Linked DNA regions of Homo sapiens: all the other regions are linked to region 2. Evidence: promoter capture Hi-C in human tissues and cell types (Jung and others, 2019). All regions are on one chromosome and are shown on one strand. The core of a region is centred on a gene start or on the middle of the fragment in contact, and the rest is flanking DNA. Distances in the headings are between cores, read along the strand shown. Region 1 overlaps LINC01234 (long intergenic non-protein coding RNA 1234). Region 2 holds the start of SDSL (serine dehydratase like). Region 3 has its middle 50 kb from the start of LINC01234. Region 4 has its middle 33 kb from the start of DTX1.

What was found. Contacts are between HindIII fragments. The study calls those that stand out against the background at their distance.
Region 1: a contact is called between a fragment that was not itself captured here and the fragment with the promoter of SDSL in region 2, in 4 of the 25 tissues and cell types used here (H1 embryonic stem cells, bladder, mesendoderm cells and 1 more).
Region 3: a contact is called between a fragment that was not itself captured here and the fragment with the promoter of SDSL in region 2, in 1 of the 25 tissues and cell types used here (H1 embryonic stem cells).
Region 4: a fragment that was not itself captured here is called in contact with the fragment with the promoter of SDSL in region 2 in 1 of the 25 tissues and cell types used here (IMR-90 fibroblasts).

The regions. Positions count from the first base shown.
Region 1 is chr12:113,743,824-113,747,773 of GRCh38, reverse strand. It overlaps LINC01234 (long intergenic non-protein coding RNA 1234), which reads left to right. Exons shown (of 3, transcript NR_110026.1): 3 at 1,179-3,197. Among named protein-coding and RNA genes, the nearest start is that of LINC01234, 28 kb to the left of the region's middle. The HindIII fragment of the contact is 3,092 bases long and covers 919-3,950 here.
Region 2 is chr12:113,419,790-113,423,639 of GRCh38, reverse strand. It overlaps SDSL (serine dehydratase like), which reads right to left and starts at 1,260. Exons shown (of 8, transcript NM_001304993.2): 1 at 1,163-1,260. The HindIII fragment of the contact is 24,154 bases long and covers 1-3,291 here.
Region 3 is chr12:113,721,962-113,725,757 of GRCh38, reverse strand. No RefSeq gene overlaps it. Among named protein-coding and RNA genes, the nearest start is that of LINC01234, 50 kb to the left of the region's middle. The HindIII fragment of the contact is 5,093 bases long and covers 1-3,796 here.
Region 4 is chr12:113,021,514-113,025,119 of GRCh38, reverse strand. No RefSeq gene overlaps it. Among named protein-coding and RNA genes, the nearest start is that of DTX1, 33 kb to the left of the region's middle. The HindIII fragment of the contact is 4,003 bases long and covers 1-3,606 here.

The DNA.
Region 1 (3,950 bases), core at 1,215-3,714, 320 kb before region 2:
AGAAATTAGCCACTGGAGGAGCTGGGGGAATGGTGTGCCAGGCAGTGGGAACAGCAAATGCAGAAACCTAAAGTGGGGAGGGAATGAGCTTGGTGTGGGAAAGGAACCTCCCAGAGGTGCAGGGGGTGAGGGGATGAGGGTGGAGAGGTTCCCCCTTCCATGAGGACTTCAGCTGTTACTGTCCCTGAGAGGGGCAGCTCCTGGAGTTTGCAGCTGAGGAAAGCCATGGTGAAGCTCACTTAGAAAATGACTAAGGCTTACTTAGGAGATAATTCACTTAGGCTCACTTAGGAGAGGACTAAGGCTCACTTAGGAGCCTCCATTTTTAGGATAAAGGACTTGCCAAGGACACAAAGCCTACCACCCCAGCTTCTTCTCCCAGTCATTCCCCTCTAGCACAGGAGAAGGCAAACCAGGCTGGGAAGTGCAGAGGCAGACCCCAATACGCAGGTGTTCCTCCAAGCAGGCCAAGCTGGGACAGAAGGGGCAACAAATCAGCCCCACAGAGCAAAGCACATGGAGCACTTTGACGACCTGGACTGCTTCTGCCCAGCTCTGGGCCATGTGACCCCGTGGTCACATGACCAGCTCTAACTACCCCTCCCCGTGGAGGGAGATCTGGGCTAATTGCCAGGGAGACTGGGGTTATAAATTGTGTGGGGTTGGACAGAGGGAAAGTAGAGGCTGGCATGTAGCTTTAAATGGTTTTCTCCAACTCCGAGGTTTCCCTTTTGTTCCTTAAGCATTTGTAACACACAAGCTTTGCTATCCCCAGGGAACTGCGCCTGAACTCACTGGTGAATTGGAATTTTTGTCTTTCATTATTTTATTTACTTATTTTCCAGTTTTATTGAGGTATAATTGAAAAGTTAAAATGGCATATATTCAAGATGTCCAATGTGATTATTCGACATATGAATACACTGCAAAATGATTACCACAATAAAATTAATTTTTTTAGTGGCCACTCTGGGCAAGGGAGGTACAGTTCCTGGTTTTGAGGCTGTTGTTTTGTTTTGTTTTTGTTCATGGGAAGCTGCACCCTCCATGCTTGGACACCTGCATTTCTTGGGAAGCTTTTGAACGCTATGACTTCTGGTCTCACCACTACCCCTCCATTTCAGGCTCTCATGGGTTCAGTCCTGGATGCTGTAACAAATTCTTCCCTCTCTTCCCAGGTGCTAGCCAGGATCACTCCCTCCGAAGTCACACCAGAGGGAGGGCTGGAGGGAGAATCAAATGAAAGAGAGAGGGAGAGAAAGGAAGGAAGAGAAGGAGGGAGAATGGAAGGATGTATGGATTTGGATGTATGGGTTCCATTCCTTCTACCCTGGCAAAAGCTTACTCATCCTTCAGTGTCCATCCAAAATGGCATCTCTTCTTGGGCACCATCTCCAGAGTCTCCTGCAAGCAGGTAGCTACATCCCACAAAACAACCACCCATCTGACCATGCAAGTGTGTGGGGGAATGAAGACCAGCCCAGGAATCTGAGATGAATGTTTTGCTTCTTGCTCTGCCACTGACTCACAGGGTACCCCAAGCAAGTCCCTTCACCTCCTCGGTCTCAGTTTCTCCATTTATACTACTAAGGCAGTGGACATGATGGCCTCAAGTCTCAACATTTTTATTCCCTGAAAAGAAACTCTTGGTGCTGAGTGGTCTTCTTCTGCCCTGACATCTCACCTTTCAAACGCTTGTCTCTTCTCACCCCACCCACCACTTAGCATGTGCTCTTGGAGAACACCCAGGACTCAGGGTCTCTGCACACATCATGAGTCCAGCTCAGCATTTGAGGTGGAATCAGAGGAAAGGAAGGAGAGTGGGGAGAATAGTCAGTATTTTGGCAAGCTCATCATACCTTCCCCCTTTGTATAGAAACTTCAAACCATTTCCCTTTGAAGGCACTACCTCCTTCCCCCAGTTATAAATGAGTGAAGGTCTCAAGCCTGGACAACCAAATGCACAGTGATTGGTTCAACTCTGGACCTGTGACTCAAGCCAGACCAAGGGAGTGACATGCAGGGCTTTGCCTGGAACTATTCTGAAAGGGGCACTCTCTTTCTGCTGGGCTACTGATAATATGTGCATCCGTGATAGAAGAGCCTGCCTGATAATAAAGCCAATAAGGGAAGAGCAGAGCCAAGAGATGGTGGGAGAGCAGATGCCTGAAAATATCATTTGAGCCCCTGGGTCCAGCTGCACCTGAAGCCACCACGATCTCCTGGACTTTGCAGTTACTTGAGTTCATAAATACCCTTTGGCATTAAGCCAGATTGAGTCTTAATGCATATAGAAATAAGAGAAATGAGAAAAGAAATTGAAAAGAGAGACAGCAGAGAACTGATTCTCTACTAGAGCCTCCAGAAGGAATCAACTCTGCCAACACCTTGATTTTGGACTTGTGGCCTTCAGAACAGTGAAATGATAAACATCTGTTATTTTAAGGTACCTAGTGTGTAACATTCCGTCATGACAGCCCTAGGAAATGAATACAGCGAGGAAAATCCTACCAGCACAAAGGCATGGAGGTGCCAGGATGTCTCCTCTGCGTGAAGAGTAGATGTAGATGAGGCTGGAATTATCTATCCTAGCTGCCCAGACCCATGTGCCTTTGTTTTATGTAGTTACAGCACCTATGATACATATTTGTTACCATGTATGTCACTATGAACCTCCTCTGGAGGACGGAGAAGTCAAATACCTTAATTATTCCAACACAAGCTTGCGTGAACAGATAATCATCACTACGAGTATATTGTGTGCCTGCTAAGCACCACACCTGAGATAAGCATTTGCTGTGGTTTGAATGTCCCCTCCAAAGCTCATGCTAAAATTTAATTGCCATTGCAACAGTGTTGCAAGGTGAGAACTTTAAGAGATGATCAGGTCATGAGAACTCTGCCCTCGTGAATGGATTAATACCCTTATCGCAGTAGTGGACCCCCCTTTTCTCTTGCTGTCTGTCTCTCATGTTAGCTTGTGCTTCCTCCTTTCACCATGGGATAACACAGCAAGAAGCCCCTCACCAGATGCTGGCACCTTGCTATTGGACTTCCGGCCTCCAGAACTGAGAAATACATGTCTTTTCCTTATAAATTACCCAGTCTGTGGTATTCTGTTATAGCGGCAGAAAATGGACTAAGACGGCATTTTGCATACATTATCTGTCTTATTAAAAATAATGTTTTTGCCCAGGAACATAGATTCAAGTTGCCCTGAATATACATTATCTCCCTACATTATCTCTTTTAATCCTCACCTATTAGGTAGATAAACTGCTATTATCCCCATTTTGCAGGTGAAACCTCAAGCTCCCAAAGAACTGCAGCATCGAGGAAAGTAAAACCAATAGCTAGCATGTTCAGTAGTCCCCTTTACCCATGGTACAATACAGTACGCTAAGATATTCTGAGAAAGTGAGAGGCCGCATTCACGTATCTTTTATCGCAGTATATTGTTACAATTGTTGTATTTTATTCGTTATTGTTGTTAGTCTCTTATTGTGCCTAATTTATAAATTAAGCTTTACCACAGGCATGTGTGTATAGGAAAAAACAGTACGGATGCTCCTCAACTCACAATAGGGTTATGTCCTGATAAACCCTTCGTTCAGTTGAAAAGATCTTTAAGTTGAAAATGCATTTAATACCTCTAACCTACCAAACATCAGAGCTTAGCCTAGCATACCTTAAACATCCTCAAAACACTTACACTAGCCTACAGTTGAAAAAAAATCGTCTAACACAAAACCTATTTTCTAACAAAGCACTGAATATCTCATCTCTTAATTTTAATTTTTTTTTTTCTGAGTAACAGGCTGCTCTGTTACTCAGGCTGGAGTGCAGTGGCATGATCATAGCTCACTGCAACCCTGAACTCCTGGGCTCAGGCCATCCTCCCACCTCAGCCTCCTGAGTAGCTAGGATACAAGTGCGTGCCACCACACCTG
Region 2 (3,850 bases), core at 11-2,510:
TTCCTGAGTAGCTGGAACTGTAGACATGCACCACTGTATCCGGCTGATATTTTAATTTTTATAGAGATGCAGTTTTGCTGAGTTGTCCAGGCTGGTCTTGAACTCCTGGCCTCAGGTAAATCTCTTGTCTCTGCCTCTCAAAACACTAGGATAACAGGTGTGAGCCACCTGTTGGCTCACAACAGATGAGTCATTAACTCACCATTGACTCCATTTTATAAACAGTGAACCTGAGGTCCAGAGAGATTAAGTAACTTATCCAAGTTCACACAGTTAGAAACAGCATAGCCAGAATTCACACCAGGCAGTGTCTTTGGCATCTGTGCTATTAACCGCGATGCTATACTTTCTCTAATATACTAGTGTTATCGTTACTATTATGAAAGCTGCATGCATTTAATATTTATTGCCAATTGTCCTTTGGAACCAAATGCTCCTGGCTCAGTTTCCAGGCTTCCCCAGCCCTCTTGGTTATACTGACTCACAAGAGGACAGCAGGCATCAGTTAAATGAAAAAGCCCCAAGTTGCCAACAGCCTTATCAACCCCAGACCCCATCAGGCACCTGAGGTCTGGGACTGAGCTGTCTTGGCCCAGGGACACACACCTCTTGTCCCGTATGGCAGCCACCAGGGCTGAAATGGGGGACCTGGGTCTCCCTGCTGTGGAATAACCCAGGGGAAAGCAGGGGGCTCAGGCTCAGGTCCCAGTCATGCCAACCTTGGCCAAGTCACTTTTGTCACTGGGCCTTACCTGTCACATCTATGAGTTGAGGTAAGGACCACCAGTGCTGTCCACCTCACTTGTCCCCAAAGCCTTTCCCCAGAGGCCACCTTGGTGGCACTCCACAGCCAAATCCCTGGTGCCAGGGCTGGGACACCTCGGGCTGGCCCCTTGGCTGGCAGAATGCCCAACCCTGCCCCTCTGGCAGGCAGAACCCACTCTCGCCCTTCAGGGTCCCCAGCACAACACTTTCTTCTGCAGGGCACCCTGAATTCAATCGACATTCCCAGGAGGGCCTAGAACACGCTCAGGCCCTCTCACTCCCACCTGCTCAGCTTGGACTTTGCCCAAAGCCTCCCAAACTCCTGCAGCCTCTCATCAGCCTCTCATTCACACACACACTGAGCCCCAGGGGCCCCAGCTGGCCCCAGACCCCTTACCTCCCTGCCCAACTATCCCAGACCAGCGTGGCCCCAGCTCCTGCCCTCCAGCCTGCCAGGGAACCAGCTCTTTCCAGGAACCGGCTCTGTCCAGCTTCAGGCAGCTTCCGGCAACCTTGGTCCCTCCTCCTTTGTTAAAGAGAAAGCTCCAGACCCTAAGCCTCCGGGTGAAGACGGAGGAGGAGAGGGGATGAGAGCAACCCTCACCGCTTTCCCGGGCACTGCCTATGACTCATGCACCACCCTGTCTCATTTGACAGATGAGCAAACTGAAACTCAGAAAAGGGAACTTATTTGGCCAAAGCTTCCCAGACAGCAAGGGGCAGAGACAGCCTTTACCCCTGGCCCTGGGCCATCTCTTCCGGGATGCAGGCATCTCCATGTCTTCTCATTTTAGGTCTAGTGATTGTCCCGGATGCTGAACCACTGTTGGGGTCAGCTTAGGTCTGGGATGGGAAAACAAGGACAAGGGAACTTTTTTTTTTTGAGACACAGTTTCATTCTTGTCCCCCAGGCTGGAGTGCAATGGTGCGATCTCGGCTCACTGTTACCTCCGCCTCCTGGATTCAAGCGATTCTCCCACTTCAGCCTCCCAAGTAGCCAGGTTTACAGGCACCCACCACCACGCCAGCTAATTTTTGTATTTTTAGTAGGGACAGGGTTTGACCATGTTGGCCAGGCCAGTCTCGAACTCCTGTCCTCAGGTGATCTGCTTGCCTCTGCCTCCCAAAGTGCTGGGATTACAGGCGTGAGCCACTGCACCTGGCCAAGGAAACAATTATTATAATTATTATTTGTGACATGGGAAAGGTATATTTTTGTCTGAAGCACCTCTCCGTCTCGGATATTTTACACGCAGCATGAGAACCCAAGCAATTATTTGCTACTCAGATGAATGACTGACCATTCATTCATTCATTAAATGTTTATTGGACACCTACTATGTGCCAATCCCTGGAACTTTGGCCTCAAACAAAATAGCATGTCCTCTGCCTTCACAAAGCCCTTAGAGAGGGCCATTAGAGAGCACTTATTAGTGCTATCAGATGTTAGCAGCTGGCAGGGTGGGGCAGGGCTGTGGAACCCAGAGCAGGCACCCCGCCTGGCCCTGGGGGGCTGGGGAGGCTTCCTGGAGGAGGGGAAGTCTGAGTGGAGCCAGGAGTCAGGCACAGGGAGTGCAAAGGTCTGGAAATGAAAAACATGATATATTCCAGGGTCAGGGTAGTATCCAGTGGGGCTGGGAGGGAGAAGGCAGGGGTGGGGAAGCAAGTGGGGTTGAGGCTGGAGATGTGGGCAGAGATCAGAGTCCACAGGGATGCCTGTACCAATCCAGAGTTTGGACCTTACCCAGGGGCACTAGGGAGCCACAGAAGGCTTTAGGTGGGGGGAATGACATGGTCAAATTCATGTCTTGTCTCTGCACCATCTCACTGGGTGAACCTGAGCAGCTCGTGCCCATCTCTGGGCCTCAGTTTCCCTATGTGGAAAGTGGGAACAGGAAGACCTGGCATCACAGATGTTGTGTGTCCTTCTTGGGCTGTTTCTGATCTCCCCAGGTTTGATGATTAACTCCCAGCCACTTGGGGTTAGATGGAGCTGCTTGGCCGTGATCCTTAATGTGGACTCTGGCAAGTTTCTACCCATCCTCGCTTTAGACACACATCCATCCTTGTTGGGTGCCTTGTCCTGGACTGGGTACTGGGGACACAGAGGTGATAAAATCCAGTTTGTGCCTTGAAGTGGCCCCCAGCATGGAGGGGAGAGGAAGACACCCAATTCGGTAGCAACAATAACACTTCCTAAGATGACAGAGGGCAGAAAGTCCCCATAGGGTAGCTGGGGATGGGGCAAGATCAGGGAGGGCTTCTTGAAGTAGGCAGAGACTCAGCACACAGCTCAGACTTTGACAAGAAGCAGACTAGCTGCATTTAGTGCATGTCTACTGTACACCAACACGTGCATGCTGTCCAGCGTAACCCACACTGTTTATTTGTTTGTTTGTTTGTTTGTTTGTTTGTTTTACAAACGAGGTCTCACTGTGCTGCCCAGGCTGATCTTGAACTCCTGACCTCAAGCAATCCTCCTACCTTAGCCTCCCAAAATGCTCGGATTACAGGCAACAGCCACTGCGCCCAGCCCCCAAAGGTTTTTTAATAGTTGGCAATCTATTTCTGTGTGCATTAGGAAAGATGTGTGTATGTATGTAGGTATATATATATGTGTATACATATGTATGTGTATGTACATATAAAATATCAGACCCATAGTTTCATGGATATGATGGCTTAGGAAGAAGCTAAGGTAGGTATTAAAGTTTAAAAATGGAGCCTCTTTAAAAAATATATTAATTGGCCAGGCATGGTGGCTCATGCCTGTAATCCCAGCACTTTGGGATGCCGAGGCAGCTGGATCACCTGAGGTCAGGAGTTTGAGCGTGGCCAATGTAGTGAAACCCCATCACTACTAAAAATACAAAAAGCTAGCTGGACATGGTGGTGGGCGCCTGTAATCTCAGCTACTCGGGAGGCTGAGACAGGAGAATCACTTGAACCGGGGAAGTGGAGTTTGCAGTGAGCCGAGGTCGTGCTATTGCACTCCAGCCTGGGCAACAAGAGCGAAATTCCGTCTTAAAAAACATATATAAATATATATATGTGTGTGTGTATATATATGTTTATAAATATATAT
Region 3 (3,796 bases), core at 477-2,976, 300 kb before region 2:
AAGACTCAGGCTAAAACAATGGTCAGGGATCAGTCTATGACTTGGGATCAGGGCTCAGTCTGTGACTGGGATCAGGGTTCACTCTGTGACTGGGATCAGGGCTCAGTCTGTGCTTGGGATTAGGACTCAGTCTGTAACTGAGATCAGGGCTTAGTCTGGAGCAAGAGTCAGGGCTTACTCTGGGTCCAGAATGAGGGTCCAGCTCTCCACCAGCATGAGGATCCCCTATGACCCATCAGTACCTCCATACTAGACTGTTGTAAGGTTGGAGCCTCACACCCAGCACCACTGACCTGCAGCATCAACCTCAGCCCCACACCTCAGAGCCCAGGAGCCCTGCCTCACTGACATGACATGCGTGTCCCAAAGTGGAGCCTTCCCCGATCCCTTGCCCAGCAGTGTCAGGTCAGCCCAGTGTGGCCCAGTGCCGCCGTGGGCACCGTGGGCCCCTCGTCCCCGCCTGCCCTCCACGCGCCTCCCTCCTGTCTCCTCCCTCTGCCACCAGCTGCCGGCTCCGTCTGCTCAGTCTCTCTCCCTCTCCCCGCTCTGCCTTAGAGACAGCTATAAGTCTCCCGTGAAATATATACAGTGTAAATATATAAAAAGCTTGTGCCTGCCTGCTGCTTATGTATTCATGAAATAGTAAATAAATTTTATGGGATAATTTGAAGGCTGCCAGGAAGCCGGGAGATGAAAACGAAGGCCTAATGAGATGGAGTATCGGGGCGGCACACGCGCAATCGATCGGCGGCTGCCTGGCCCGAGCTGGGACGAGCCCATCTCCCGTGGCCCGGGGCCTCGCTGATGAGACACTTCGGAGGGGCTTCCGGGGGCCATAAACCACGGGTGGCTGCGGTGGGGGCGGGGGAGGCCTGAGCTCTGGAAGCGGTGATGGTGCTGACAGCCACCTGCTGGGAGGCAGGGGGCGGAGTTCTTTCTCTAGCTCTGCCAAGGACCTGCTGTGTGACCTTGAGCCAGTCATGCTCCCTCTGTGTGCCTCGGTTTCTCCACATGCGTGATGAGGGGCTTGAGCTAGAAGGTCCCTGGGCTGGGGCCTGTGGCTGTGACAGTCTTCTGGTAGCCCCCTGGCCCTCCCCTTCCTGACACTTATTGCAGTGTGTAACGATATGTTGATTTCATGCTTATTGGATGAGTATCTGTCTCTCCACTAAACCTCAGCTCTATTTGGGCAGGGTCTAGGTCTCTTTTGCATACTGTTTTTTGTACCCCTCCTGTCTGCCACATAGGAGGGTCCCAATAGATATTTATGGGTTGGACCAAGTGCCATGGCTCACACCTGTCATCCCAGCACTTTGGGAGGCTTAGGAGGGTGGATAGTTTCAGGCCTGCCTGGGCAACATGGCAAAACCCCATCTCTACTAAAAATAAAAAAAAAATAGCCAGGTGTGGTGGTGCATGCCTGTAGTCCCAACTACTCGGGAGGCTGAGCGGGGAGGGTGGGGAGGCAGAGGTTGCAGTGAGCCGAGATTGTGCCACTGCACTCCAGCCTGGGTGAGAGAGTGAGACCCTGTCTCAAAAAAAAAAAAAAAAAAATTATGGGTTGGATGGATAATGGAATGAATGAATGAGTGAGGGAGTGAAAAATTCAGAACAGATCCAATTCCATCCACTCCACCATGCCACCGTGTGGTGCAAGCCACCATCATCTCCCGCTCGGACTACTGCAGTAGCTCCTCTCTGGTCTCTGTCACCACCCTGGCCCCCTACAGTCCACCTCCCCACAACCCCCAGAGGAATCCTGTTAGACAAATAAATCAGTGCCTCCTGTGCTCAATATCCTCCCATGGCTCCCATCTCCCTCAGAGAAACAGCCGAAGTCTTCTCCATGTCAGACAAGGCCTACATGATCTGCTGCCAGCCCCTCTGGCCACCCCAACCCCTGCTGCGCACTCCTCCCTCCCTCTACCCCAGCCCCTGGCTGCCCACCGCAGGGCCTTTGCACTGGCTGTTTGCTTCTGCCTGCATTTCTTTCCCTGTTATATCCCCATAGCAAACTTCCTCACCCTTTTCAAGTCGTTGCTAAAAACATGTTCTCTCTATGAGGCTACCCTGGCCACCTTACCTAAAAATGCACCCAACCTTCCCCTGGTACTCCCTGACCCCTGTCCTGCTGTAACCACCCCCTGCCCACTACCTTCTGAAATAGTATAGTATCTACTTATTGTTTGTTTGCTCTCAGCCTTTCACCCATGAGAAGGTGAGCTTCTTAAGGGCAGAGTGTTTGTCGGGTTTGTTCATCACAGGGTCCCCAGCACCTAGAACATTGGCTGGCCCACAGTAGATGCTCGGGCAATAGTGATTGGAGGAATAAATGAATGAATGAATATCTAAAGGACCCTCCAAGGCTGATCTCATTTTTTTTTTCTTAGAGACAGGGTCTCACTCTGTCACCCGGGCTGGAGTGCAATGGTGCAATCATAGCTCACTGCAGACTCCACCTCCTGGGCTCAAGTGATCCTCATGCCTCAGCCTCTAAAAGCACTGAGATTATAGGCATGAGCCACTGTGCCTGGCCTTAACTTAATTTAAAAACAAACAAACAAACAAACTGGCCATGGGCAGTGGCTTATGCCTGTAATCCCAAGCTTTGGGAGCCCAAGGTAGGAGGATCATTTGAGGCCAGGAGTTTGAGATCAGACTGGGCAACAGAGGGAGACCCATTTCTATGAAAACATTTAAAAAATTAGCCTGACATAGTGACCCTCACCTCAAGTCATTGCTGATTTTTTTTTTTTTTTTAGGGTCTTGCTCTGTCACCCAGGCTGGAGCACAGTGATGCAATCATAGCTCACTGTAGTCTTGAACTTCTGAAGCTCAAGTGATCCTCCTGCCTCAGCTTGCCAAATAGCTGGGACCACTAAGTGCGCTGGAGTGCGCTGGTGTAATCATAGCTCACTGAAGCCTCGAATTCCTCGGCTTGAGCAAACCTCCTGCCTCAGCTGGGACCACAGGCATGAGCCACTGCCCCCGGCCCCATATTAATAATATTCAGCTGGCTGGGTGTGGTGGCTCATGCCTGTAATCCCAGCACTTTGGGAGGCTGCGTTGGGCGGATCACCTGAGGTCAGGAATTCAAGACCAGCCTGGCTAACATGGCAAAACCCCATCTCTACTTAAAATATAAAAATTAGCCAGGTGTGGTGGTGCATGCCTGTAGTTCCAGCTACTCGGGAAGCTGAGGCAGGAGAATCACTTGATCCTGGGAGGTGGAGGTTGCAGTGAGCCGAGATCGCACCACTGCACTCCAGCTTTTTTTTTTTTTTTTTTTGGAACACCTTCTTTGAGCCAGGCCACACCCTGGACATCAGGAATGTTCTGAGAGGGGGAGCTGAGTGGGCAGTGTCCTGAGAAAAGGAGGAGAGAGGGGCATAGGGAAGGAATTCAACCTTGCTGGCTTGGGTGGGCACAGAGAGAAGGGTGGCCTTGGGGGAGGGTAATGGGGGTGAGAGGCCCCTGGAGCCTGGGGCTGGGAGGAAAGCCCCCACCCAGAGAGAAAGCCAGGCAGACCCCAATGCACCTATCGGGGAGAAAGGGAGAAACAGGAGACTGCAAAGCCCAGCCCAGGCTGGAACAGCCTCCAGAGGCCATGGGGCCACCTCCCTGCCTTTGGCAGAGCCAGAAAGAACAGGCTGACCCTGCTTTCAGGGACACATCTGAAACTCCTCTGGGCCCATGAGATTGTCAGGAAGTCCTTCTTGAAGTTAACCTAAATCCACACACTGCAGTTGCAGCCCACGTCTCCTTGTTCTCAGGGGGAACCTATTCCGCAGTCCTC
Region 4 (3,606 bases), core at 700-3,199, 400 kb after region 2:
ATTGCTGTAATCTTAATTATCTCTTTAAAGGCCCTATCTCCAAAAAATAATCACTTTCTAAAGTACTGGGTTGGGCAGGGGGTGGGCAGGTGCGGTGGCTCATGCCTGTAATCTCAGCACTTTGGGAGGCAGGCGGATCACCTGAGGCCAGGAGTTCAAGACGAGCCTGGCCAACATGGTGAAACCCTGTCTCTCCTGAAAATACAAAAATTAACCGGGCCTGGTGGTGCATGCCTGTAGTCCCAGCTGCTTTGGAGGCTGAGGCAGGAGAATTGTGTGAACCCAGGAGGTTGCTGTGAGCTGAGATCGTGCCACTGCACTCCAACCTGGGCGACAGAGCAAGACTTTGTCTCAAAAAAAAAAAAAAGTACTGGGGGTTAGGGCTTTTACATATGAATTTGCGGGGAGGGGACACAATTCAGTTCATAACATTTAACAGAAAGGAAAGCCAGGCTAGTGAGGTGCAGTACTTTGCCCAAGCCCACTCAGTAAGTGACAGAGCTGGGATTTAGATTTGGAGGCCATTTAAGTTTAAATTAATTAAAATTAAATACAATTTAAAATTCATTTTCTCAGGCATGCATCTCATGTGCTCAGTAGCCAATGTGGCTGTTGGGTACGGAGTTGGACACTGTAGATCTGGAACATTCTCATCATTGCAGAAAGTCCTGTTGGACAGCCCTGCTTCAGAGTCTATGCCCGTGGCCTCTATGAGCTCTGCTCTGGGGGTATGAAACTCAGGGAGCTGTTGTGAGGACTAAAGGAACTAATGTCTCCTAGGGGTCCGGTACACACAGACAGTTTGGGAAATGGTAACTGCTTGCGGTATTATTATTAAGCATCAAACAGAGAGGGACTTCTGAATAGCTGGAACAGTGGGGATTATAGACACCATTAAATTTCACCTTGTAAGACTCAACTTGGTCATTGCACGCAAAGAAACACATCACAGCTAGGCGTGTTTTGGATGAACAAACCTAGTCAAATATCTGGCGTTGTTTTTCTCAGTTAGCACTTTGGGACAGGAGGCAAATAGCATTATTATAGTTTACTGGATATTCCAAGTTCCTTCTGTTGACCAATCTCCGTGGATGTCAGTGACTAAATACATGAATACAAGGTCGTTCTGCAGTGGGCAGGTCTATACAAACCTACCCTCAAAAGTTAGAAGAAGCTGAGAGGCCAAAGAAAGAGGCTGGTAAATCAAGTTTCTTAGGAAGAAATACTTAACAGGGTCTTACAAACTGAAGCCATGTCTGTGTCTTGTGCAGTGGGAAGACCAGATGGTGGATCCCCACGCTATTATGACTGCCCAGTGGGTTCTTGCTGCCCACTGCCTAGATAGAGCCAACTTATCAAGACAGGGGAATTGCAATAAAGAGTTTAATACTCATAGAGGCAGTTAAATGGGAGACTGGAGTTTTATTGTTAACTTAAATCAGCTTCCCTGAATATTCAGAGGCTAGGGGTTTTAGGCCAGGCACGGTGGCTCATGCCTGTAATCCCAGCACTTTGGGAGGCCGAGGTGGGTGGATCATGAGGTCAGGAGTTCGAGACCAGCCTGATCAACATGGTGAAACCCCATCTCTACTAAAAAATAAAAATAAAAAAATTAGCCAGGCGTGGTGGCACGTGCCTGTAATCCCAGCTACTCAGGAGGCTGAGGCAGGAGAATCGCTTGAACTAGGGAGGCGGAGGTTGCAGTGAGCTGAGATTGCACCACTGCACTCCAGCCTGGGCAACAGAGTGAGATTCTGTCTCCAAAAAAAAAAAAAAAAGATAGTTTGGAAGATGAAGGGTAGGGAATGAGGAATGTTGATTGGTGGGTTTGGGGCTGAAATCATAGGGAGTTGAAGATGTCTTCTTGTACCACATCAGTTCCTGGGTGGGGGCCATAAGGCCAGATGAGCCAGTTTACTGGTCTGGGTGGGACCAACTGATCCATCAGAATTCAGTGGCTGAAAAATATCTCTAACACCAGTCCTAGGTCTTACAATAGTAACATTACCCACAGGAGCAACTGGGGAGGTTAGGAATCTTGTGGCCTCTGTCTGCGTGACTCCTGAGCTATAATTTCTAATCTTGTGGTTAATGTGTTGGTTTTACAGAGGTGGTTTGAGCTCTAAGCAAGGAGGGGGTTTCTTTTGGGGAAGGAGTCTTATCACCTTTGTTTTAAAGCTAAACTCCAAACTAAATTCCTCCCCAAATTTAGTTCAGCCTATTCCCAGGAGTGAAGAAGGGAAGCTTGGAGGTTAAAGGCAAGATGGAGTTGGTTAGGTCAGATCTCTTTCACCGTCATAATTTTCTCAGTGTTAGAATTTTTGCAAAGGCAGTTTCACTATTACTCCCAGACCCAGGACTTATATACCATAAGGAAAGGATGATTCAGAAGGGATGCTTAGGGCAATTGATGTAGAAAACATCAAGGTGGTTTGACCTGGGAGCAAGATTTATAGCAAGTACCTGCTCTTCCACAAGGAACAATAGATAAACTGGAAATTTTAGGGGACTTCTTGGAACTGGGGTTAATCAGAAGCCCATATGGTGGATTAGCGTCTGAGATGGAGCTGCGTTGGCTTCCACAAAGACGTATTTCATTTCTACTCTCAAGAAACTTAAAACCTAGAGCAAATGCACCATGGCATATGAGATAGTTTGGATGTGTGTTCCCACCCAAATCTCACATTGAAATGTAATCTCCAATGTTGGAGGTCGGGCCTGGTGGGCAGTGATTGGATCATGGAGGTGGATTTCCCATGAATGGTTTGGCACCATTCCCCTTGGTACTGTTCTCACAATAGTGCATGAGTTCTCATGAGATCTGGTTCTTTAAAAGTGTGTAGCACCTCCTGCCCTCATTCTCTTGCTCCTGCTTTCGCCATGTGATTTGTCTGTTCACCCTTTGCCTTCCACCATAATTGGAAGCTTCCTGAGGCCTCCCCAGAAGCAGATGTTGCCATGCTTCCTGTACAGCTTGCAGAACTGTGAGCCAATTAAGCATCTTTTCTTTATAAACTGCCCAGTCTCAAGTATTTATTTATAGCAATGTGAGAATGGACCAAAACACCATATCATACAATACTTTAATACTTTAGCAACCAGCAAAGTTATACAACTGTCAGTTCTTGTTCTCATTCTAGCTCTATCTTAGCATGGGTTACCTGCAGACTGATGGACTCTCCTTCAATAACCATTGAGATGTCAGTTGATTTATTGGTAGATCCAAAACTCTCTTCCTACAGACCAACATAGTCTTTGGAAATAGTCATGGGAATAGGCTTTGGAAATATGTCCAAAGCCAAGATGCTAGATTTCCCTAGAGTGCACATCACTCAGAAGATTAAGAAAGACTTAGAGGAGGTGGTGTTTGCCATGATGCTTGAGATATGGGAGTGTGTCTGCTAAGATACGGGGTAAAGATATTCCAGGTAAAGAGGAAGCATGAGTCAGTCCCTGTGTGTGTGTATGAAAGACACATTCCATAGCAGGATAACAGTTCAGTTAGCTGGAGTTTTCTTCCATGAAGACCCTGGTACAGGAATGGGTGGTGCATGTATGAGTGACACAAAAGAAGGTTCAGAGCTGTGTGTGGTGGCCCACACCTGT